5 separate regions of the Homo sapiens genome follow, and all the other regions are linked to region 5. Evidence: promoter capture Hi-C in 16 types of primary human blood cells and fetal thymus (Javierre and others, 2016). All regions are on one chromosome and are shown on one strand. Each heading gives the region's core, a stretch centred on a gene start or on the middle of the fragment in contact. The rest is flanking DNA. Distances are from core to core; before and after follow the strand shown.

Region 1 (4,565 bases), core at 1,949-4,448, 1.7 Mb before region 5:
TGACAAATAGCCTTTTTTAAAAATCATGAGGCTATAAATTATATTTTTATCAGAAGATTTAAATTATAGAAATATACTGTAAAGTACTATTAAGTTCTAAAAACAAATTTAAAATAAAACACGATGACCATATTTAAATATGCAGAAGAATAAATGGAAAAATCATAACCTTGGTACTGCAACTAATCAGTTTGCTAAAAGAGGAAATAAGACAGGAAATGAATTTTCTAAGAAATGCTTAGAAAAAATATTTATAAATAGAAAATATTTTATAATTGATGAGACAATTCTAATTAAACTGACTATGACTTTTCTGGGTTTCAAATACAACATATATTTATTTGCTGAAACTTAATAATAGGGTCAGTGGATTAGTCCATTTTCACACTGCTGATAAAGACAAACCCGAGGCTGGGCAATTTACATAAGAAAGAGGTTTAATTGGGCTTACAGTTCCACCTGGCTGGGGAGGCCTCACAATCATGGCGGAAGGTAAAGAGGAGCAAGTCACATCTTATGTGGATGGAAGCAGGCAAAAAGAGAGCTTGTGCAGAGAAACCCCCGTTTTTAAAACTATCAGATCACATGAGACTCATTCACTATCATGAGAGCAGCACAGGAAAGACCCGCCCCATGATTCAATCATCTCCCAAAGGGTCCCTCTCATAACACATGGGAATTATGGGAGCTACAAGATGAGATTTGGATGGGGACACAGAGCCAAGCCATATCAGCGAGTTTCCTCTAAAAGAAATTTTCCATCATCTAACTATTCTATGAAGAACAATAATTCATCAAATACAGTTTACAATTTGGGGTTCTATAAGTGGTAAGGAACTTTAAATAGGTTTGAAAATCCTTTGGAAAACAAAATACCTGAATATTTATATAGTCACCTAAGCTTGTTTTATCACTCATTTTTAACTCAATAGCATTTTTAAAATACACTTTTTTATTTCAGGACAGTTACAGATTTACAGAATTATCCCAAAGACAGTACAGAGATTTACTATGTACCCCATACCTAGTTTCTGCCTTTATTAACATCTTGCATTAGTATAATACATTTGTCACAATGAACTAATGTGACACATTATTGTTAACTAAAGTCCATACTTTATTCAGAGTTCCTCAGTTTTCCCCTAATGTCCTTGTTTTTCTGTTCTAGGGTCTCATCCAGGATACCACATGGCATTTAATCATTATATTATGTGTCTCCTTAGGCTGTATCAGTTTCCCAGATTTTTCTTGTTTTTTATGACCTTGACAGTTTTGAGGAATAGAATGTCCCTCATTTGGGATTTGTCTGATGTTTTTCTCATGATTAGACTGAGTAATGTGTTTTGGGGATGAAGACCACAAAGAGTCTCACTGTGTTGCCCAGGCTGGAGTGCAGTGATGTGATCTTGGCTCACTGCAGCCTCTGCCTCCTGGATTCCAGCGATTCTCCTACCTCAGCACCTGAGTAGTTGGGATTATGGGTGTGCGCCACCATGCCAGGCTAATTTTTGTATTTTTAGTAGAGACGGGGTTTCACCATGTTGGCCAGACTGGCCATGAACTCCTGACCTCAAGTGATCTGCCCACCTTGGCCTCCCAAAATGCTGGGATTGCAGGCATGAGCCACAGCACCCAACCAAGGATTACACTTTGTAACAGTGCCATTTCATCACCTTGATAGGTGCCATTTCATCACCTATCAAGTGTACCTGTTATCAACAGGATTTCTCAAGGTCGATGTTGACCTTGATAACTTGGCTGAAGGAGTGTTTGTCAGGTTTTTCTGCTATAAATTTAGCCTTTTCCCGCCTTTCCATATTGTGCTCTTTGGCAGAAAGTCACAATACACAACCCACAATTAAGGATTGGGCAGTTATCTACCCACCCCCACCCGAACCACCCCACACTCACACACGATTCTTCTGCACAGGAGATTTGCTTCTTATTTACTTAGTCAATTCTATTTATATTAGTATGGACTCATGGCTGCTTATTTTATACTTCAGGTCATAATCCAGTAACACTTTATTTTGTTGCTCAAATTGTTCCAGCTTTAGCCCTTTCAGTTGGCGCCTGTGTCCCTTTGACATACTCCCATCATTGTGGGTTCTTGCTTTTGTATTTTTTTTGAGCATTCCCTTACTTTTTGACACTCCAATATACTACAGGATCACCTTGTTTATTTCCTGCCCCAGTTCTAAAATCATCAGTTTCTCTAAGGAGCTGCTTCCTTTTATTGGAGAATGTACAGTCTGCCCTCTGTAACCTTGGGTTCTGCATTCATGGATTTCACCAAGCACAAATCAAAACTATTCAAGGAAAAAAAAAAGGATAGTTGCATCTTTACTAAACATATACAGACTTTTTCCTTGTCATTATTCCCTAAACAATACGGTATAACACTTATACATAGCAACTACATTGTATTATGTATCATAAGTAATCTAAAGATGATTTACAGTATACCGGAGGATGTGCATAGGTTATATGCAAACACTACACCATTTTATACAAAGGACTTGAGCATCCATGGATTTTGGTAGGCACAGGAATCCTGAAACCAATCCCCCACAGATACCTGATGGACAATTATATTGGAAACTAAGATCTGGGAACTAGCAGTGTTTGTTGCTACTGAGATGTCATTTCTTCTTTGCCTTCTCAGCTGACAGAGCATGGAAATGTATGTGTGTACTAACCCATACGTATACACATATCTATAAATATTTCTATATGTAACCATCTGTATCTGTACTAAGCCAAGCATGAGTTCACATTGCTGTCTCTAACTCCAATCCATTTCCACATGGACCATTCTCGCCTCCTTGTTTATCTGTCACCTCCCACCTCAACAGTGTGAAGTCCGGCTGTTACTATCCTTGATCCATTTAATTGTTTGTTCAATTTCACTGCATACATATACATAGCAGTTCAGGATTGTTAACTCTAGCCCCATGGGAAACAACTTTATCAACTAGAGTACAATGCTTCTGTCAAGTTTCTTTTGCCTTTAGTCTTATAGGTTCCCCTCATTTCCAGAGTTACTTCGGTCAGCACCTTATTCTCCTACCTCTTTTACTGAAGTCTTTTCATGAATTTATAACACATTTAGATTATTTTGTCACATTCTGCATTCCATCCTGGGATCAGTGACTTCCTAGGTGTATTTTTTTATTTGCATACATTAAAGTTTACTGTTTGTGCTATAAATTCTCTGGGTTTTGACAAATGCTTAATTACTTGTATTTACCATTACAGTATCATGCAGTATAGTATCAAGGCCCTAAAAAATGCTCTGTGCTTCACTTATTCAACCCTTCCTCTCTCTCCCCAACCCCTGGCAATCTCTGATCTGTTTATTGTCTCTACAGTTTTGCCTTTTCCAGAATGTCATAAAATTGGAATCATTATAGTATGTATTCTTATCAGGCTGGCTTCGTTTACTTAGCAATATGCAGTTAAGATTCATCCACATCTTTTGTGGCTTGATAGCTCATTTCTTTTTATTGCTGGTTAATACTCTTGTATGGATGAAACATAGTTTATTTACCTAGACCACCAACCTGTTATGAAATGTTTCTCTACATGTGTTTGAAGACATTTGTGAAGTCAGGTCTCAGCTTTCCTTTAATACTAAACATTTTTAGGTTTTACTCATCATTCTTATTTTTAAAATCTTCAATTAATTTTGTGGCTCTTTCCCAAACCTTGAATATTTTTTTTGTTTGCTTGTTTTTTTTACATCATTTTCCTCCCCCAAATTGTCCAACATTCTGTAGTACAGTGTTTCAAACCAACTCCACACTGGACATAGTTGGACATTTGCTTCCCGATTTCCCCATGTTCTCTCCATTTTAATTTGCCCCATGTTAGTGTTTTACTTTTTCAGAGACAGAACTTTATAGGTTATGTACCACCTTGGAACCACTGTGATCATCAGAGCCTTTTTAAGCCCTCTTCCTTGAAGGACAGTTATTTGCATTTTAAAAAACAGATTTATTTGAACCTATCTACCAGTAGTCTTTTTAAAAAAGTATTTTGTGATTTTGATTCAGTATAGACATTTACAACATTTTTATTCTTTCTTACTATAACGGACTCTCAAGTCTCGGGGAATCAAGTTAATGAAGTTCATTGAGGCTTGGCTGTTGTGCTTTCCGGACGTCCAGTGGGAATCTGGAACTGCCTGGACTGCCTGGTCTGTAGTGTAGGAACAGGGCTTTCTCTGTTGGACTACAGGGAATTATCTCTGGGATCATAAGGAGGGCCATTCTGCCATGCCTCACTGTCTATCACCTTTATGTGAAAAAGGGCAGCTACTATCCAATTAGCTAAAAGGGCTTGAGGATCATATTTATACAGTCTTTCAACACTCAACAAGTACTTTTGAACCTTTACTAGGTACAGCATGGAATCAGCCTTAAGACTACTCTCCTGGAGTGGTTACAGTTAACCAAGGCAAAACCCCTTCTTCGCCTTCCTGGGGGAGATGTGATGGGGAGGGGCTGCTGGGTAAAGGGGCAGGCGATGGTGTAGGAAGGAGTTCACAAAAGCACACATGTTTT
Region 2 (4,268 bases), core at 1,512-4,011, 1.9 Mb before region 5:
ACCCTCCATCTAGCTTCCAGGTGTGTTAGAGGCACAGTTACACAACATGTGAATGACCCTACCACAGCAGAAACTAGTAGTATCCTAAAGTACTCTGTAGAGCTGAACACTATAATTTTAAAAATAAGTTAAAATTTATTAAATGAAATACAGTGCCTACCTGAACTATTAAAGTAGTATTGCCGTCCTGGGTAACCAACACTGGAGGAAAAACCGCCTAAACGTAAAAGAAATAAACATTTTAATGGCAGCCATAAAGCTTTAAATGCTAATTGTTCCAGTAATTAGAAAGTTCTCTGGACAAAGCCCAAGGTCATTTCAAATGATTTCTAAACACTTATTAAAATAAACTCCCTTTTGTTTGGGGGCCAGCCCTAACTGGAAAAGAGTGTGTGTGTGTCCCTACAGGGAAAAGAATGTGTGTGTGTGTGTGTGTGTGTGTGTGTGTGTGTGTGTAGTGGAAAATGAAACCCTAATTTACACTCACTGAAGTTCCTTAGTCTTTGCCTGCCAAAGTACCAAGCCTCGGCTTTGATGTCTCTGTACAAGCAGAGACACTCTGGCTAAATGGAGAACCTTCCTCAAAGAAGGTGTTAGGAGAGCCATCCTCCCTACCCTTCCTAGGGGACTTCACTCTTTCTTGTCCCTACAGAAGGCAGTAGGACTGTCTACTCAGTCAATTTGGCACGGCTGAATGAAATGAGAGAGGGAGGGCCAAGGGCCACACCCTCAGGGTGACCCTCCTCTTCCAGGAGGCATCAGACAGCAGCTTCCACATGCTGGGTCGTTTTCCATGGGGTTCCTGTGTCCTTCAATTCTCAGCTCACAGAAAAAAGGCCGAGTTCGCAGGCTATTTGCAAATTGCACTGAGTGTTCTAATTTTCCTATTTAATTTGCTATTGTATTTATTACTTTGAAAATGGAGTGGTGTAGAAATAAGTCACCACTTATTTTTTAAGGCTTTTAAAACTAAGAGTTTAAATATTATAATTAGGGGAAAATCCTCTTTAAAAATTAAACAAAGCACTTGCTTAAATTTCATAACATGTCTGCAAAAAGCTTTACTAACCGCTTCATCATGAGACACAGAAAAAAGAAACAAGACATTAAACTCCCGAGAATCATCTCTTTTATCAGTACTAATGAGTATTAAATTGTATTGAAAATACAATAAAACTGGACATTTTCAATAAATGAAGCTCCCACTGCCTCCTCTAAGTACGTACAGTGGAAACACATTAATAAGCAAACGTGGGAAAATGAGGATCTGCTTAAATGCAACACAGCCTGTAAAAATCAACCAAAAGTGAACACGACCTGCTAATAAAGGTGCCAGTGCAGTGCCTGGAAAGCTTTCTACTATCATGAATATTATATGGTTCTCAAGAATACCAGTCATCAGCACAAACTGTGAAACAAATTATTTATGGTTCAAGAAAAGGTAAAATAGTCTCAGAAGACTTCCCATGAATAAAAGATGAAATAGTGGAACTCAGTCTATAAAACAAGTGTTTGCAAACCAGTTTTCTTACAAGTCAAAATGAGAATCGCATTGAAAATTAAGAGGTCTAAAAAATACAAGTATTTCTAAATGAAATATTTTCATTGAGTATCAATTTGAAGGGAAAAACAAAATTAAAAAAAGCAGGAGCTAAGCTTCAAGCAATAACAGACTTGGTTTCGCCATGCATGAATATATGGCTCATCCACCAAGGACCCGGTCATCAGTCTGAATTCTTTAAAATACTGGCCATGCACTTCAGTCCAGGCTTTGTTTTCTTTTTCACCTTTGCCTTGCACGTATATTAATTCATGGACTATTATAGAAGAATGCATTATTTTAAAGGCACTTTAGTTCTCTGCATTCTTTAGGAAATCGTGGTTTTCTGCGGGTAGCATTAAGGTTGAGGGTATAAATATATACTGATATTTGTCCCCTAAGAAAGTATCAGATTCGAAATTTAAGTTTGCAGCCTCTTTTGTGGAGCAATGTAAGGAACTGCACTGGTTGTTTTACCTTTCGGTTTAAAAAGAAAAACAGGCATATTAGGGAATTCTTGAGCTGAACCACAGGGAAACTTGGGGTTGCTTCTGTTCACATTAAAATTAACATGAACTTCCAAGCTGTTGTCATGCCAAAGGTGTTTTATTCTGTACCTGCACATGCTTCCATGATTTTCTTCAGAGGCCCTTGAGTGTACATTAGTCCAACAAGAATCCCAGCCAGATGCCCAGCGAAGGAAGTCCTAGGAGGGAAGGAGACCCTTTGTGAGTGTTTGTTCTGCTGCTGATTAGAGACATTCTGTCTTCTCATTAGCCCAGTGCATGTCAAATAGTCACAGTCTGCAGGCTTTGTTCCACATCAAGTCTTTTATGCTAAGCAGCATTTAACTCAGTCCAAAGAACAACATCTCCTACCTTAAAAAAAAGTACAATGAATAACAACCACCACATGTTTAAAACGCAACACCCCTCCTTAACCAGGGGAAGTGGGTTGTCTCCTCCAGAGCAGTGGAAGCATTTGGTCAAGACAAGTCATTACATCGCTTTCCGTTTTTTTTCTGTACCTCTTATCACAAAACATAAATAAAATCAGTTTTCTCTGTTTGGCATTAAATCTGGAATTATCCAGCCATTGTGAGGGATGATGTCTATCTGTGTTATGGCAGGGCAGACTGCTGCAGTTTTCTACACCATGGATGAGTGAAGCAGAGAGCAAGTGAAACTCAGCAAAAGGAACTGAGATGCCCACCTGCATCCACCAAAGTTGTCTTCATGTGTATGTTTCAGTCACTCAGAACAAAGAAACATACATTTAAATTTCAAACTTGAAAGATGAGTTAGGGCATGAAAGTGTTTGCGTTAGGGCATGACAGTGGTTTAACTCTTCTTAAACTGGCATCTAAAACCAGCAATTACTTGTAAGATTTATTTTCAGAGGTCTACTTTGACCCAAGTGGCAACACTCTTTGTGGAGTTCCCTGGCTGAATGACCTCCCAACCAGCCTGAGTTTAAGAAATTACTGGCGATTCTCAAAAACCTCTGCTGTTACCACAAAGGGGGGGGTCCTACACAACGAGTTGTTCTTTAAGCACTTGACCTCAATTTCCAGCTGCCCGCCACCCTCTAGACACCCCCGCGCACACATGCACACATCCACTAGCACCTTAAACTAGACTTTTCTGGGGTGCCACTCCCACTTCCCGTTTGTAATGCCTCTCATACCCCTCCCAGCCTTCCCATTCCTACTGCCACAACCATGCTTACTGCCATCTGGACTATTTGGAAATGCCCAGTGTTGGGCACAGAGTGAACCCCAGATGAATGTGTGTTGAATGAATAAAATAAATGAAAGAAAATCATCCAGCTGGTCTCCCTGCAAGCCAGCTCTTGCTCTCCAGTGCATCCCACACACGGCCATCAGTTATCCTCCTGAGGCAGAAGGCAAGTGGTGTCATTGCCATCCTCTGAAATCCACTGGTTCTCACAGAATACTCCGGTGTGTGTTTAAGCCCTTCCAACACTTGGCCTTGCCCATCTCTGCAAAGTCAGAGGGTGGAGACCTCATCGTCTACTACCTCCATTCCCACATGCCCCACTGTCACATCCCCCAAGCACTCTCTGACCATAGGCTAAGCCAAACAGCACCTCTGTCAAAAAATGCCACCCCAGTTGAAGAGCCGTTCTTTCCTTCTCCTGCCTCCCCTCAGAGCTGAGGCTCCTACCTTATTCTGGCACGAAGCCAGTCTGCTGGTGGCACAGTACTTACACGTCTGCCTGCCTGTCCGTCTCTCTCTGTCACACACAAACTCCCTGAGGGCAGCAATGGTGTCTCATTCATACATTATACAAAATTAGAAGCTTAAAAAAAAAAAAAAGCCAAGCAAATGAACGCATTCCCACAGCCTGGAATAGTGACCTCTCATTCCAGAAGGTGGGAAACTGAAAGTTATGAAAGAGCCTGATGGAGACTCCAAGAACATAGCCTTTATGTGGCTTTTACATATGTATTCCAAACACCCAGGACAGGGCCAGGCACATGAGAGGCACTCAAGGATATGTTGAGTAAATGGCTCAAGTGTGCCAGGACCGTTTCACCAAGACCAACAGGAGGTAAGTTAAAACCACTAGATGTTCAGCTCAGGGTGCTTGCTGAGCCACGGCAATCACAGAGCTAAGAATCCGCCATTTGGTAACCTACACGAGACTCAGAGTCAAAACCAATACATTTCGCCTACTATGGCAGCAGCCTAGGGGAGATTCCCTG
Region 3 (4,527 bases), core at 923-3,422, 1.8 Mb before region 5:
TGTAGTCCCAGCTACTAGGGAGGCTGAGGTGGGAGGATCAACTGAGCCCAGGAGGTCCCGGCTGCAGTGAGTCAAGATCACACCACTGCACTCCAATCTAGGTAACAGAGTGAGACTCTGTCTCAAAAAAAATAAATAAATGAATGAAAAATGAATACGCCTTGAAAGAAAAAAACAAGAAATTTCCTTCAATATGTTAGGATGAGGGCGACTACATGGGCAGTATGCACAAAATTCATTCCTAGGTTTGTTCAAATTTAGAATCACAACTGATTCATTGCAACACACATAATTGCAATATTGCTGGTATCAGTAATATATTTTTAAAAAACGTAGTGAAATTTTTTTCACAGTATTGCCCAAGAGACTTTTTACTTAAGAAAAAAAAAACCCAAATTATATGTAGTTGCCAAAACACACATACACACAAGTCCACACACACACCCCTATATATTATTTATAAAACTGAAGTCATTGTAAGTAACATTTATATTTATTTCATTCATTACTATCCTGATATTGTGACTTTGCATTAAAAATGCATAAGCAAGTTAACACCTGGAGAAACAGCTGTTGGTGTAATGACAACATTCCTAGAGCTAATGCCAGAAGATCTGGGGTCAAATATGGAGGCCATCATGTACTAGTATGTGGCCTTGGGCAAATCATACAACCAGTACTGTAGAGCTTCTGTTTCTTTATCCATAGATGGCAAAAAATTCCACTTACATTCTAGAATCACCATCAAGAATAAATGAAATAGGGTATTATGTTAAAGCGTGCAGTGCATCACCAAGGTTTTTCACTCTCCTTTCCTCTCCTTAATGAGATTTTCCTGCCCTTAGAGCTAGATTCTATTACTGTGTAATTATGAGGTGCATGTAACAATGTCCAAGAAACTAGATGGTAAATAACCCCAACATGCAAACCGGAATGCACACATTGTTAGTTGGCCATCACGTAGATCCCAAAGGTCTCTTGCCCATTATCTGTTGCTTCCCAGAAATTTGATAGATTTTCTTTCCTGAAACAGCCAAAGTTATCTATGGGCTTTGAAATATCACCATCATGATATTGCCACAAAGCAGCTGGTTGATTGAAAGTAACTCCCCCTCCCCCAAGCTCCAGCTGTCACCAGGAAACCCTCTTCAATGTGTGAAAAAGACAATGTAATATCACTAACTACCACTATTAGTAACAATCTAACAAATACTTAGCATTTGAAATTATTTTTCTTATGAAGGCTCATTATTAACTAAAAATTAACTCTAAAAAAACACTTTACTATATAAATATAGAGTAGTTGCTTCCATACAACAAAAAAATGATAGGGCTATAAACACAAGTAATACACTTCCTTTGACTCCTTGTTTCTTTTTCCCCGAGTCATTTGTAATCCTAAACAACAGTCAGTTAAAATGCCAAATAGCTTTTAATAGCGATACAGCTGTCACAACTTGGAGGGATTTTTTAAAAAGCTAATTCCTCAAAAAAGTGCACAGAATCCTACTTTGTAAAATACGGGTCAGGTGGGTTTTTTTTTTTCTCAATAATCACTCACTCCTCTGCATGAGAAGCCATCCATATGGTGACATGGCTGACAACCTTGGAAATTGTCTTCAGAACAAGTTTGTGAATCCCACTTACCAGAATTCTTAATACCATTACGTTTTAGGTATAGCTCATGCCCTGAGGATTTCTATTCCACCACAGAGTTTCACGTCCAGCTCCCCGGAATCCGAGGTTCCCTAGGCACGCCTCCTAATATCGCTGCCAAGGACCAAGAGCCTGTGCCCTTCAACCTCACTGTTCTTAAAGCTTCTCGGCTCCTGAGTTTTACAGGTAAGATTCTGTTTAAGAGGCTCCCTGTTGAAAAAAAATATGAGGTCCATTGCTTACGTGGCTATGACTGCAACATAAAAGGAAATCTACCTTTTAAAGAATCGCTTCCGTTTTTAATAGTTTTTTTAAAGAACATTTACATATACATGTACGTATCTAATTTTACATATATAGAAAATTTCCTTTTATACTTGGTCCCCACCCCCATATTCCAATATACTGACAAATAAAATTATGACCTAGTGTGAGTCAAGTATTTTCTGCACTCATACATTCATATACAATATAAACACACAGAAATACATGTAAGAGATTTTGTTATCCCTTATTAAAAAATGTAATGTAAAACTTTTCACTTTGCTATTAAGAATTCGTGTTTTAAAAAAATATTAGCAATTTCAGGGCTAACAGCATTTTCTCATCCTTTGATGCATACCTTCAACGAGGTCTCATTTCCTGTAACAGTGTCCCCTTCTCTAGCTGACTGTCCCCATTAACTAACAGAAGATACTTTATTACTCATCCCCTGACCTTTGGATGTTTACCTTGCTGTAAACATCCAAAACAATTTCTACAAGTTGCTCTGTTACAGTGATAAAACTGAAGATGGTGTTTTTTCACGTTAAAGTTTCAACTTTTTTCAAGTGTTTGTTTTTTCTCATTCACAATAATATGAAAGCTTTGACTCCATTTCAGCATTTTATGGTTAAAAAGAAAAGCAGTGCAGTTAGGTAATAAAATTACCTCATTTATAAAAATATTATAAAATGAATGGCATAAAGTTAGGTTTGAGACAACAAATACCTTTTTTCCCTTTGTCCGACACACAACATTTACTGAGCCTCTGTGCCTAAAACAAGGTGGACGTGTTTTATGCGTTATTTCATTTAATTCAATGGCCTGAAGTAGCACATCCTATGACTCCTACTTTACAGAAATTCAAGTGGGGAGGATGTTAATTTGTCTAATGTACACAATCACTAAGTAGCAGAGGCAAGATTCAGAGCAGGGCTTGTCTGACCTAAAACCACAGATAGCGATCTGCCTCTCCGATGAGGAGAACAAAAAAAAATATTTAATGCCTTCGAAAAATAAACATTTCATGATGGGGCAGTGCCAATTTGGTGGCAGAGCTAACGAAATTATTTCCAGAATAATCCATTCAAAGTGACTTATGTTTATCTGAAAACTCTCTCAATATCCAGGAGCCATGGTATAGCCTTGGGAGCAGCGTGCTCTCATCAAAACGACATGTGTAGGCCACGGTTTGGCACTGACCTTCTCAACATTGCAGTGAATGTAGCCTTTAGAGCAGCTGCTTTAAATCCTGAATATTTCTTTCTCCCCCTACAATGGACCCCTGAAAGAGATAAAGTTGTAAGAAAATACTGCATCTAAAAAACACAGCAGGTTGAGGGCACTCCTGTGATCCTTCCTGAAAATGGAGGTATCTAGAGTAGACATGAGATCTTTGCTACCGTGGAGTTGTACGACATATGGGAAACAAAGATAAGGACAGAAACATATTCAGCCTTGGCTTTCGCTTGCAAGTCACTATGTTACAATAATTCTCAACTCTAAAACTAGTGCTTACCTCTGGTCTTTACCAAATTCTGGGTCAAAGAAGGTATAACTAAACTGAAGACGAGGCAGGTGGATTACCTGAGGTCAGGAGTTCGGGACCAGCTTGGCAAACGTGGTGAAACCGTCTCTACTAAAAATACAAAAATTAGCTGGGCGTGGTGGCAGACGCCTGTAATCCCAGCTACCTGGGAAGCTGAGGCAGGAGAATCGTTTGAACCCTGGAGGCAGCGGTTACAGTGATCCAAGATTGCACCATTGCACTCCAGCCTGGGTGGCAGAAAGAGACTGTCTCCAAACAAAGCTGAAGAGATCAGAAGGCCAAAGAATTAAAAACTACTCTTCAACATAAATACTAATGCTATTCTTAAAAATCCTACAACCACAATAGCATTAGTATGCACTGCTTTAACTTTTAACTGAATATCCTGCATCCAACAACCTTGACTACACAGAATTGAGAATCCCGAGGTAAACAAAATACCCTCTAAGCAGCAGTCCCAATATCCATGCGCTACAGCTCATATCTACCCCGCTGAAGAATCCTTCCAGCACAAACTATGTACTTATTTTATGCAGTTCTAATAAGTTACTTAATAACATCTTTGAGGGTTTTCTATGTGTTTTGTGTTAAACATTTTTCTTGCATCTTCATATTCCAGCCCTGTGAGGTAACATGTCCAAGTTTTTCCATCTAGGAATTACTTCAATTCAAATTCCATTATATGTGATTCCACAATGGGTGTTATCACTACGCCATTAATTCTCAAACTTTAGCGTCCAGGTGCATTGGTATCAACTGGAAGGCTTGTTAAAATATATTTCTGATTCAGTAAGTTTGGGATAAGACCCCAAAATGTGCATTTCCAAGAAGTTCCCAAGTGATGCTGATCCTAGCGTCCTGGGATTATTTAGAAACCAATGCACTTCTATTCTTCTTTGAAAGAATACTTGCTTTCCACAGCGACGGCAGGCCTGCAGCAAACCAGAAGCCTTTAAAGTTTATTAGAACTACCTCAAAAAGACACACAACTGTGAGAAATTAGATAAAGCCTTCTAATAAGCAATTTCAAAGAGAAAAAAGAAAAGCCTGGGAGTCACTGA
Region 4 (4,572 bases), core at 657-3,156, 1.1 Mb after region 5:
CACAAAAACCATGTCTTATTAATCTCATCAGCAACAGCATATAGTAAGTGTGCGATATATGTCTGTTGAATATAGGAATAAATAAATTCATGAATGTTTGTTAATAACTTCATCATGAGAAAGTATTAGTACAATGGTGGCTCCTGCCCGTAATCCCAGCATTTTGGGAGGCTGAGGTGGGCAGATGATTTGAGGGCAGAAGTTTGAGACCAGCCTGGTCAACATGGTGAAACCCTGTCTCTAGTAAAAATACAAAATTAGCCAGGCATGGTGGTAGGTGCTTGTAATCCCAGCTACTCGGGAAGCTGAGACAGGTGAATCCCTTTAACCTGGGAGGCGGAGGTTGCCGTAAACCGAGATCGCACCACTGCACTCCAGCCTGGGTGACGGAGTGAGTTCGTCTCAAAAAACTAAAACAAAACAAAACAAAAACAAAAAGAAAGTTCTAGTAAATCACTGTACATAGAAGTACCATCTGATTCACATCCATAATTTAAAGTTTTTATTAGCTACCTTAAAAAAATAAGCAGGTCATATTAATTTTAATAGTATCTAACTCAATATATCCAAAATAGTATCATTTCAACATGTAATCATTGTAACAATTATTGATGAACTATATTACATCTTTTTTGTTTTGTGCTAAGTCTATAAAATCTTGTAGTATTTTGCACTTGTACTACATCTCAGTTTGGACAAGCCACATTTCAAGTGCTCTATAGTCATGTGGATAGTACGGTTCTAATGCAATTCTGCAATTCAGGTGTCAGAATAATATAGTGGGGCAGAAGTTTGGAGTCATTGACTTCCTGAGTCCAAATTTTGGCTCTTGAACTTACTGGTTGTCAATGACCTCTAGCCAAAAACCACCAGGAACAAATGGGGTTGATTGCTTGTTGGAGGGAGAAGACACACCATTGGGAATGGTGAGGTGTCTGGGTAAAGGGATGTTCGGACAGTTTTATTATAGGATTTGTGTTTGTGTTAGGTGACCTGGGAGAGCTTAAGGAAGAGAGGCTCTCCTGTGGACTGGATGTTGTCAGGAAATGCGTATAATTCTAAGGTTGCATATCTTAATAAATCTTATCTAAATGGAGGAAGACTAGATAGCGGTTAACATTATAATTAATAAAGAAATAAGAGTCACTCATATTAGCCAGGATAGGGGGATGTTTGGTAATTTCTGTGGCTTGTACATCGCTCATATTTTGGCCGTGTTTAGATGTGATTATGGAGTGGCCTCGTCTGATGTTTATGTTCCACAGGAAGCAAACACTTCCTAGCAACACCAAAGCTCAGCTGATAGTACCAGGCAGCTCCTGGAGATCAAGGGCTGCTTTTCTCCCTCTCATAGCTGTGCAACCTTAAGGTAGTGATCAAACTTCTCTGGTTGTTTTCTCATCTCTAAAATGGGAATACAAGAGCATCTATTTCATCTCTTAAAATTATCAGTATTAAATGAGATGCAAAGACACTGAGTTAATGCCTGGTATATGGTCACCACTCAGTGCTATCTATTGTAGTTCAAAGATTCTAAGATGCACTATATTTTTTCACATTTTAACATTTCTGAAAGTGTGTGCCTTTCAAACAATGGCTTCTTCAAATGGATGAAATGTAGTATTGTAATTTCTGAAATCTCTGGTTTGGGGGACAATTCCTTGTCCCCTCCAGGTGCTCAATTTATTCCTGGGTGAATGGCTTTACTTTTAAACCTTCCTTACTTTCCCCATTTCTCCGCAGGCGCCCCGTGGCATCCTCTCCCAGCCACAGACTTTCAGCTTGCGCGGCATCCCCAGGCAATACGGGCGGTGCGGCGGCAGCACTCGGGGGCTTACGGCGGCGCGGCGCCCAAGAGGCCCCAGCAGCCGAAGGGAAACCGGCGCGTCCCCCGCCCGCCCAGGCGTCAGCTGATGGGCTGCCTGCCGAGGAGGCCGCAGCAGTCGCCGCGCGAACATGGCGGCCGAAATCCACTCCAGGCCGCAGAGCAGCCGCCCGGTGCTGCTGAGCAAGATCGAGGGGCACCAGGACGCCGTCACGGCCGCGCTGCTCATCCCCAAGGAGGACGGCGTGATCACGGCCAGCGAGGACAGGTAGGGCCCGGGCGCAGCCGGGGCGGCCCGAACTCCGCGACGACGGGGTGTGGGGGCGGTGGGGTCCGCGGCCCCGGTCCTTCCTGCGTGAGGGGGCTCCCCCGGCAGCACGGCCCCACCCCCACTCTGCGCCCCTTAGCTCCGCCGGGTTCCCGGTTCCCTCCCGCCGGTCCTCCAGCCTCGACTTGCACCTTTCCAGCCTGGGACCCCGGTCTCGCCGCGCCCCTCCAGCCCGGATCCCCTGTCCCACCGCGCCCCTCCAGCCCGGGAACTCCGTCTCACCGCGCCGCCCAAGCCCGGGACCCTTGTTCCAACGTGTCTTTCCAGCCCAGGACCCCTGTTCCAGTGCGCCCTACCGCGCCCCTCCCAGCCCACCTCGCCCCTCCTGCTCAGGACCCCTGTTCCAATGCTCCCCAACGCGCCCCTCCAGTCCGGGACCCTTGTCCCACTGCGCCCGTCCATCCCGGGAGCTCCGTCCCACCGCGCCCCTCTAGCCCGGATCTTCTGTCCCACTGCGCCCCTCCAGCCCGGGAACTCTGTCCCACCGCGCCACTCAAGCCCGGGACCCCGGTTCCAGTGCGCCCCAACGCACCTCTCCAGCCCAGGACCTCTGTCTCACCGCGCCCCTCCAGCGCGGGAACTCTGTCTCACCGCGCTGCTCAAGCCGGGGACCCCTGTTCCAGTGCGCACCAACGCGCCCCTCCCAGCCCACCGCGCTCCTCCAACCAGGGAACCCCGACCTGCGGTGTCGCACTAGCCTGGGACCTTCGTCCCGGTCTCTCTCCCTGGCGGGGTTTAGCCTGGTACTCGGAAGGTGTTTCTTGGCCCTCCCGGGTCAGTTCCAAATCGTCTCCTCTGGAAGCGTGGAGGACCGGCGGCTGGTCACTGCGGACCCTGGTGCCCGGGGCTTGCTTCTTTGCGAGGAACTCCAGCCGCCTTCGCTCTCTTCCTCCCCCTGTACTCAGGGATTTCACGCCACGCCAGGCCTCTAGATCAGTTATTTTTGCCACGGCTGCTAGAATCACCTGAACTCTTATTTACTAAATAGGTTTTTGTGAAAGTGACTCATTTTTAAAAATATTTGGATGCATTTATTTTAAAAGGAAATCTTATTTATTAGGAAAACTAACATTACTCACCAGACAGAGTAAACTAATAACTAAAACATGTTAATTGGCATGCACACAGAGTCCTCTCTTGCACTGTGACATCTTGCATTGGACGCCCACCATGCTTTTGGGAAACACTGATTGGGTCCAGTTTTCTCATTTCTCCTAAGAGGAAGCCGAGGCTGGTGGAGGTGTAGCTTGCTGCTAAGTTACAGAGATACTGGTGAAGCCGGAAATGCAATCCAGAACTCCCACCAGCTCTGGGCCTGAGTGATTGGATTGGAACAGTATTTATGATTCGACTTTAAACTTTAGCGTCTTTCAAATCCTAAAGGTTTACAATGTCAGTAGCTTTCCGGTGGGAATTTGAAGGAAATGACTGATGTTTATTGAATGAAACTGTGTTTCCTTGATGCAATGAGCCGTCTTAAATAGGGATAGTCCACAAGTCCAAAAGCTTTCTGGAGGATGGAAGGTACTGCTATTCTCTTAAAGCTGAAGGCGTGGTCTCTAGCCTTTTGTAATTATACCTTTTGAAGTGACATTGACCCTATCCTGAATGGGAAGAAAAAGCCTGAAGCCCCCAACTCCTGTTGGTCCTTTGGATTTTGCTTTTGAGTGAGCTTGTGCCTTTTTCCTCAATTAGATAATGAGCTGATTGTGAGCAGGCAGTGGCCTCTCCCTGCTGGTTCACCTGTAGCTGACTTCCAACAAGGAGGGGAGTGATTGGCAGGACCTGGCTGTGGGTCTGTAAAGCAGAAAGGAGTGAGAGAGATCGAGTGCATGAGACCTGGGGAGAAGGTGGGGACCTGAAAAAGGCAAGGACAGAATAATGACTTTTTTTTTTTTTTTTTAAGATGGAGGCTTGCTCTGTCACCCAGGCTGGATGGAGTGCAGTGGCATCATCTTGGCTCACTGCAACCTCCGCCTCCCAGGTTCAAGCGATTCTCCTGCCTCAACCTCCTGAGTAGCTGGGACTATAGGCGCCTGCCACCACGCCCAGCTAATTTTTCTATTTTTAGTAGAGACAGGGTTTCACCATGTTGGTCAGGATGGTCTCGATCTCCTGACCTCGTGATCCACCCGCCTTGGCCTCCCGAAGTGTTGGGATTACAAGCATGATCCACTGGTGTCCGGCCAGAATAATGACTCTTGCATGATGTGAACGTAGATGCAGACAACACTCTTTAAAAGTTAGCCTTTGGGCCGGGCGCGGTGGCTCACGCCTGTAATCCCAGCACTTTGGGAGGCCGAGGCGGGTGGATCATGAGGTCAGGAGATCGAGACCATCCTGGCTAACAAGGTGAAACCCCGTCTCTACTAAAAATACAAAAAATTAGCCGGGCGCGGTGGCGGGCGCCTGTAGTCCC
Region 5 (4,480 bases), core at 1,133-3,632:
GAGTCAAGGTCCCAAATCAGCAGACCTGAAGTTACATTTCTGTAGCAAAAAATAAGTGTATTTATGCTACAAGGGCAGGGGCAAGGGTCGACACTCAGCTCTCTCTCCTTGGTGCCCGAAGGAAGCTTAACTAAAACCTACATGATCATAAGGGCGGAGGAGAGTCTCTGAAGTATCATTATTGACATGCCCTGGGTGTGAGAGGTATGCTATCAACACTTAAACCTGCCTTCCTACTCGGTGTGACCCACGGAATTAACATCATACAGGGTATGGATTGGGCAAACAGGCATTTGTTCGTTAAACCCTCTCACACCAGTGCTCTGGGTGACCTCCTGAAGCTGGAAAAAGTACAATTAGGTGTATTAATTGTACGATTAACAAATTGTAAGTGACTTTCTGTTACTCGATATTGTTGGAGATTGGGTTGTGTGTGCTACTCAGTGTTTTGGATCAGCGAGTTGCCTTGTGCAGGGCACATTCTGATGTATTATCGATTACTATAGCCTTCCCTTTCAGCACACCTTTCTCTTCTCCTCTCTGACTTTCTCTGTGTCAGGCACACCCAGCTCTCTGACTGCACTAGCCCATCTGAGCCCTTTGTAAAGTCATCCATAAGCTGATATTTATTGAGTGCCTACGTGTGCCAGGCAGTGTTTTGAAACCAGAGACAAAGATTAGGTACCTCTTCTTGGGAAGCTCAAGTTAATTCAAATGTGCTTAATCGGTTCTCTCAGGGGAATATGCATTCAGAGACATCAAGTCTGGGTACACCTGGGAAAGGGTACGGTTGGAGGGAGCTGTTCCTACAGAGATCTTCATGTACCAACACAGAGGCAACCACCTACTTTGCTTACCCTGAAAGGTGGTGTTGCTCCCACACTGAGTACCAATATGAAAGCATACAATACAGGTACAGTTATTTGTTATGCAGGCTGTCTTGGAACTAGATGATGTTTCAAATGGCACTTCCCAAATCTGCCAGAGCCTCTTACCCTCTTACGCCTGTTATGATTTCTAGAATGTGCTGAAATGATCCCCAAACAGCATCTCTGGCTAATTGAATCCTGGCTAACAAAGAGCTGACTAAAGTGCATTTATCAATTGCTTAAGAATTCTTTATACCCAAATGTGACCTTGTGTTATAACTATCTATCATTGGCTTTAGAAAGTGGCAGGGTCATGGATCCATAAAAAGCTGTTAAGAAAAAACCAGACCACTTGGAAAGGCTGTCCCAGATCTCTCCAGACCAGTATCCAGGGGCCAGAACTTCTCTGCCCCCCATCCAGTCCAACACTGAATTGCAGAACCACCCTGGGTATGACCCAGGAAGAGACTTCTTAGAAGGCTTTCATCAGATACCTATCTAGAGGCAAAGTGCAGGCTAGATGGGTATGGGCAAGAGAAGAGCAGAGACAGCATAACTGTGAAATCCACCCCCGACCTGACCACCCTACATAGTAACCCTGCCAGTTGGTTCTTGCCTACTCATCCTAATGCCACCCAAAGTCTCTTACCCCCAGAACGCTGATTTATTGGTTTTGAGTTCGTGTTAGTAGCTTAAACTGTCTCCTTGATTTCTCTGTATTTGTTTATTTGTTCGCTTGGTTACTTGCTGTCTCCCACCCCTACCCCGAAAAAACCTATCAGCTCTACACAGCCTTAAAGTGTAGTTGCTAAGTTCCTCTCCGTATCCTCAGTTTCCAGAACAGTGTGAGCTGGCATATAGTAGGCGCTTAATAAATACTCATTGAAGGAGTGAATGAATGGGGAAGCTTATTCCAAGGCCCTGAACATGGACTTCTGGCAAGGGAGCCTTCCAAACGCTGGCTTGGGCGATGCTGCTGGGATCCCAGCCACCAGATCTTTAATAAGCCTCTGACCCCTTCCCGAGGGTGGAAGGGCGAACCGAGCTTGGCCCCCACCCACTAGCCGGACCCAGAAAATAGAAGTCTAAACGGCAAATGCATCCAGGGCTCCAACTCTCCCAGCAACCTCCAAATGAGGCTGACGGCCTTGGACAGGCGACGGCCTTGGACAGGCCCCGCCCGGAGCCCCTCGGCGGCCGCCCCCCGCCCTCCCCCGCAGCCTGCAGTTCCCCCGGGCGGCGTGGACAGCCCCGGCCGGCCAGCTGAGCCCGTGTGGGCGGCGCGGGCAGGAGCCGCCCCACACGCGTCCCGCGACGCCCGCTCCAGATGCGCCGCTGCAGGGCCCGGCCGCCAGCCGAGTTGGCCGCGCGCGCCCGGGGGAGCGCAGAGTTTGGAAAGTCTTCGAGAAGCTTCAGAGGAGGGAAGGGGGTGGGAAGAGTGGGGGTGCAAGAGAGAAAAACCCGCCTCTTGCGAGTTGAGCGAGGAAGAGGGGGGGGAAGGCTCCGAGTTCCGCTTCCTGAACGGCGGGTGGATAGAGAAGGTTGGCGCGGGGAAGACCGGCGGGAGGCGCGCCCCGGGCCCGCGGCGCGATTGGCGTGACCGGCGATGGCCGGTGAGCGGACCCGCAGGTTCACCCGGAGCCTGTTGAGACCTGGGCAGGCGGCCGAGCTCCGGCACAGCGCCGCGTCCGCCGCCGCGGTGGCAGTCAGCAGCCGGCAGCAGCAGCGGGTGAGTGCGGCGCGTCCTCCGCGCCTTCCCGCGCGCCCCAGGCGCCCGGGGGGAACGGAGCCCAGCTTCCCCAAAAGCTCGGCGGGCCCAGGTCCCCGCAGCTCACGGGTCCTCTCCTCCGCACTCCCTCCCCCGCCGCCTCTGCGGGCTCCCCCGGCGCCACCTCAGCGAGGCAGCGCCACCGACGCGTAAGGACCGGGGGCGCGTTTGTGCACGCGGGACGCTCAGAGGAGCAGCTGCGTGGGTAGCAGAAGCGCAGCGTGGGAGAGGATGTGCAGGGGCTTTAATGGGGCGCGAGGGGGCCGGAATGCACCGCCAGTCACACTGGTGCTAAGTGATACGAGTGCCAGAGACCCCGGGTGGGGTGGGGGGATCTACAGAACAGAACCCCTGAGTCCGGAGGTCTGCGCGTCCCTCTCACCCTCCAGTAAACAGACCAGTGCGCTGAGAGAGAGGGATGCAGTCCGTGGTCCTCGCCCTGGTTAGAGCTGGGGCCCCCCGACGTTAACTATCGCAGAAATAGATGTACTTGGAACAGCCCTCCCACCGCAGGGTAAAAACCCACAAACCACTTAATACTCCTCCAGAAAGGGCTGAGGAACACAGGCTGGAGGAGACGTGGGTCATTAGGTCTCCAGCGGTTTCTGATATTTTTCTAAGATGTTTCGCGGGGTTCTCCCACCAGCAATGCTTTACTGGTTACTTCCTTATTGAAACGGCTTCTAAGTGCTGGGTGATTTCCGCGGGAAGTCCCTGGGGCAGCAGCCAGCATCTGATGCTAGGATCCTATCCATACCAACCCAGATGTTCCTGCGTTGCAGTAGGTCCACACTGCCGGGGAGAGGTGGCAAGAGACAAATCAACTCTAGTGGAAACGGGAAGCGAGTGGGAACAACAGCCTCACAGCAAGACCGGGGCTCAGCAGCCGCGCTCTTGGCCTGCGTTTGGTGGACCGGAATCCGGGTTGTGTGTTTCATTTTCTTTTTTGCCAGAAAATATCATTAGGAACTAAACGGCTCTTTTTAAGAGTGTGAAAGTGTTACTCTTGCCAGTCACCAATGAGGAGGGCGCCAAAAGCTTCCCAGAGCCAGTTCCCACAGCCAGGACTATTCTCTAAAGCCAGAGGTCGGAAAGTTGAACAGAACGGAAGCAAATTGCCTGGCAGAGGGAAGAGGCATCGGGTGCCCAGGGGGTGTAGAGCGGGCGGGGGTGATTGGAGTGTGAAACGAATTGGTGGCCAGGGTGCCTTCTCTTGCACTTACACTAGCTGCAGTCCGCAGTTACCCAGAGGTGGTTCAACTGTTAGCTCACTCTGTGCCAGGGACAGCATGTGGTACTGCTATCAGCGTGCACATTTTCAGGACACCAAAGACAAACTGTTCAAAAGAACATTAGAAGAAAAGATTCAATTCGAGTAAAAGTAGAGATAAGAAAATCTCCACACAGTAGTAGAAAGTACTTTTTACTTTTGAATGATCATTCAGAATTGTGGTTTTGTCATTTTCTGCCATTCCCTTGACAAAAACTTTATTTTGCAATTGACTCATTGGACTGAATCTCACTGAGGATCTGATGGAAACACACAGCGTTCAATTGGAATAAACAGCTTAAACTGTTGTGTGTTTTTTTAAATGTAGATCCTCCTAGAATTTTTGTGGCACTAGAATTTCTATAAAGATTATGTATCCCAGATACCCTTCTACACCACACACACACACACACACACACACACACACACGCACTGCTTTCTCCAAAATTATGTCAGATTTGAAATCCTAGGGTATCTTGTCAAAATGAATAAGCTCGCTGTCTTTAAAAAGAGGTGGGGGAGGGGAGATTCAGTGGCAAAGGTGGTCCTGACTCCCCTTGCTTCGCTTCAGCA

What was found. The method cuts DNA at HindIII sites, captures the fragments that hold promoters and counts their contacts. A CHiCAGO score of 5 or more calls a contact.
Region 1: a contact is called between a fragment that was not itself captured here and the fragment with the promoter of DOCK10 in region 5, in 2 of 17 cell types (fetal thymus and total B cells). The highest score is 5.3, in fetal thymus.
Region 2: a contact is called between a fragment that was not itself captured here and the fragment with the promoter of DOCK10 in region 5, in 1 of 17 cell types (total B cells). The highest score is 5.5, in total B cells.
Region 3: a contact is called between a fragment that was not itself captured here and the fragment with the promoter of DOCK10 in region 5, in 4 of 17 cell types (activated CD4 T cells, naive CD8 T cells, non-activated CD4 T cells and 1 more). The highest score is 13.0, in activated CD4 T cells.
Region 4: the fragment with the promoter of WDFY1 here is called in contact with the fragment with the promoter of DOCK10 in region 5 in 1 of 17 cell types (activated CD4 T cells); the score reaches 5.7 in activated CD4 T cells.

The regions. Positions count from the first base shown.
Region 1 is chr2:226,773,698-226,778,262 of GRCh38, reverse strand. The region is part of intron 1 of IRS1 (insulin receptor substrate 1); the gene reads left to right. Among named protein-coding and RNA genes, the nearest start is that of IRS1, 24 kb to the left of the region's middle. The HindIII fragment of the contact is 4,590 bases long and covers 904-4,565 here.
Region 2 is chr2:226,904,771-226,909,038 of GRCh38, reverse strand. RHBDD1 (rhomboid domain containing 1) reads right to left here. Exons shown (of 9, transcript NM_001167608.3): 6 at 2,158-2,246; 7 at 161-217. Among named protein-coding and RNA genes, the nearest start is that of RHBDD1, 71 kb to the right of the region's middle. RefSeq lists a silencer at 4,043-4,192. The HindIII fragment of the contact is 2,206 bases long and covers 1,659-3,864 here.
Region 3 is chr2:226,836,748-226,841,274 of GRCh38, reverse strand. It overlaps RHBDD1 (rhomboid domain containing 1), which reads right to left. Exons shown (of 9, transcript NM_001167608.3): 2 at 3,121-3,202; 3 at 1,648-1,866. Among named protein-coding and RNA genes, the nearest start is that of RHBDD1, 3.0 kb to the right of the region's middle. The HindIII fragment of the contact is 703 bases long and covers 1,821-2,523 here.
Region 4 is chr2:223,942,669-223,947,240 of GRCh38, reverse strand. WDFY1 (WD repeat and FYVE domain containing 1) reads left to right here and starts at 1,906. Exons shown (of 12, transcript NM_020830.5): 1 at 1,906-2,093. The coding sequence starts at 1,957. It overlaps LOC124907989 (a long non-coding RNA gene), which reads right to left and starts at 4,017. Exons shown (of 2, transcript XR_007088100.1): 1 at 2,834-4,017. RefSeq lists a silencer at 2,155-2,334 and enhancers at 2,905-2,964, 2,975-3,094. The HindIII fragment of the contact is 5,306 bases long and covers 1-3,661 here.
Region 5 is chr2:225,040,370-225,044,849 of GRCh38, reverse strand. DOCK10 (dedicator of cytokinesis 10) reads left to right here and starts at 2,382. Exons shown (of 56, transcript NM_014689.3): 1 at 2,382-2,598. The coding sequence starts at 2,476. RefSeq lists silencers at 1,986-2,355, 2,546-2,785 and an enhancer at 3,336-3,675. The HindIII fragment of the contact is 1,396 bases long and covers 2,282-3,677 here.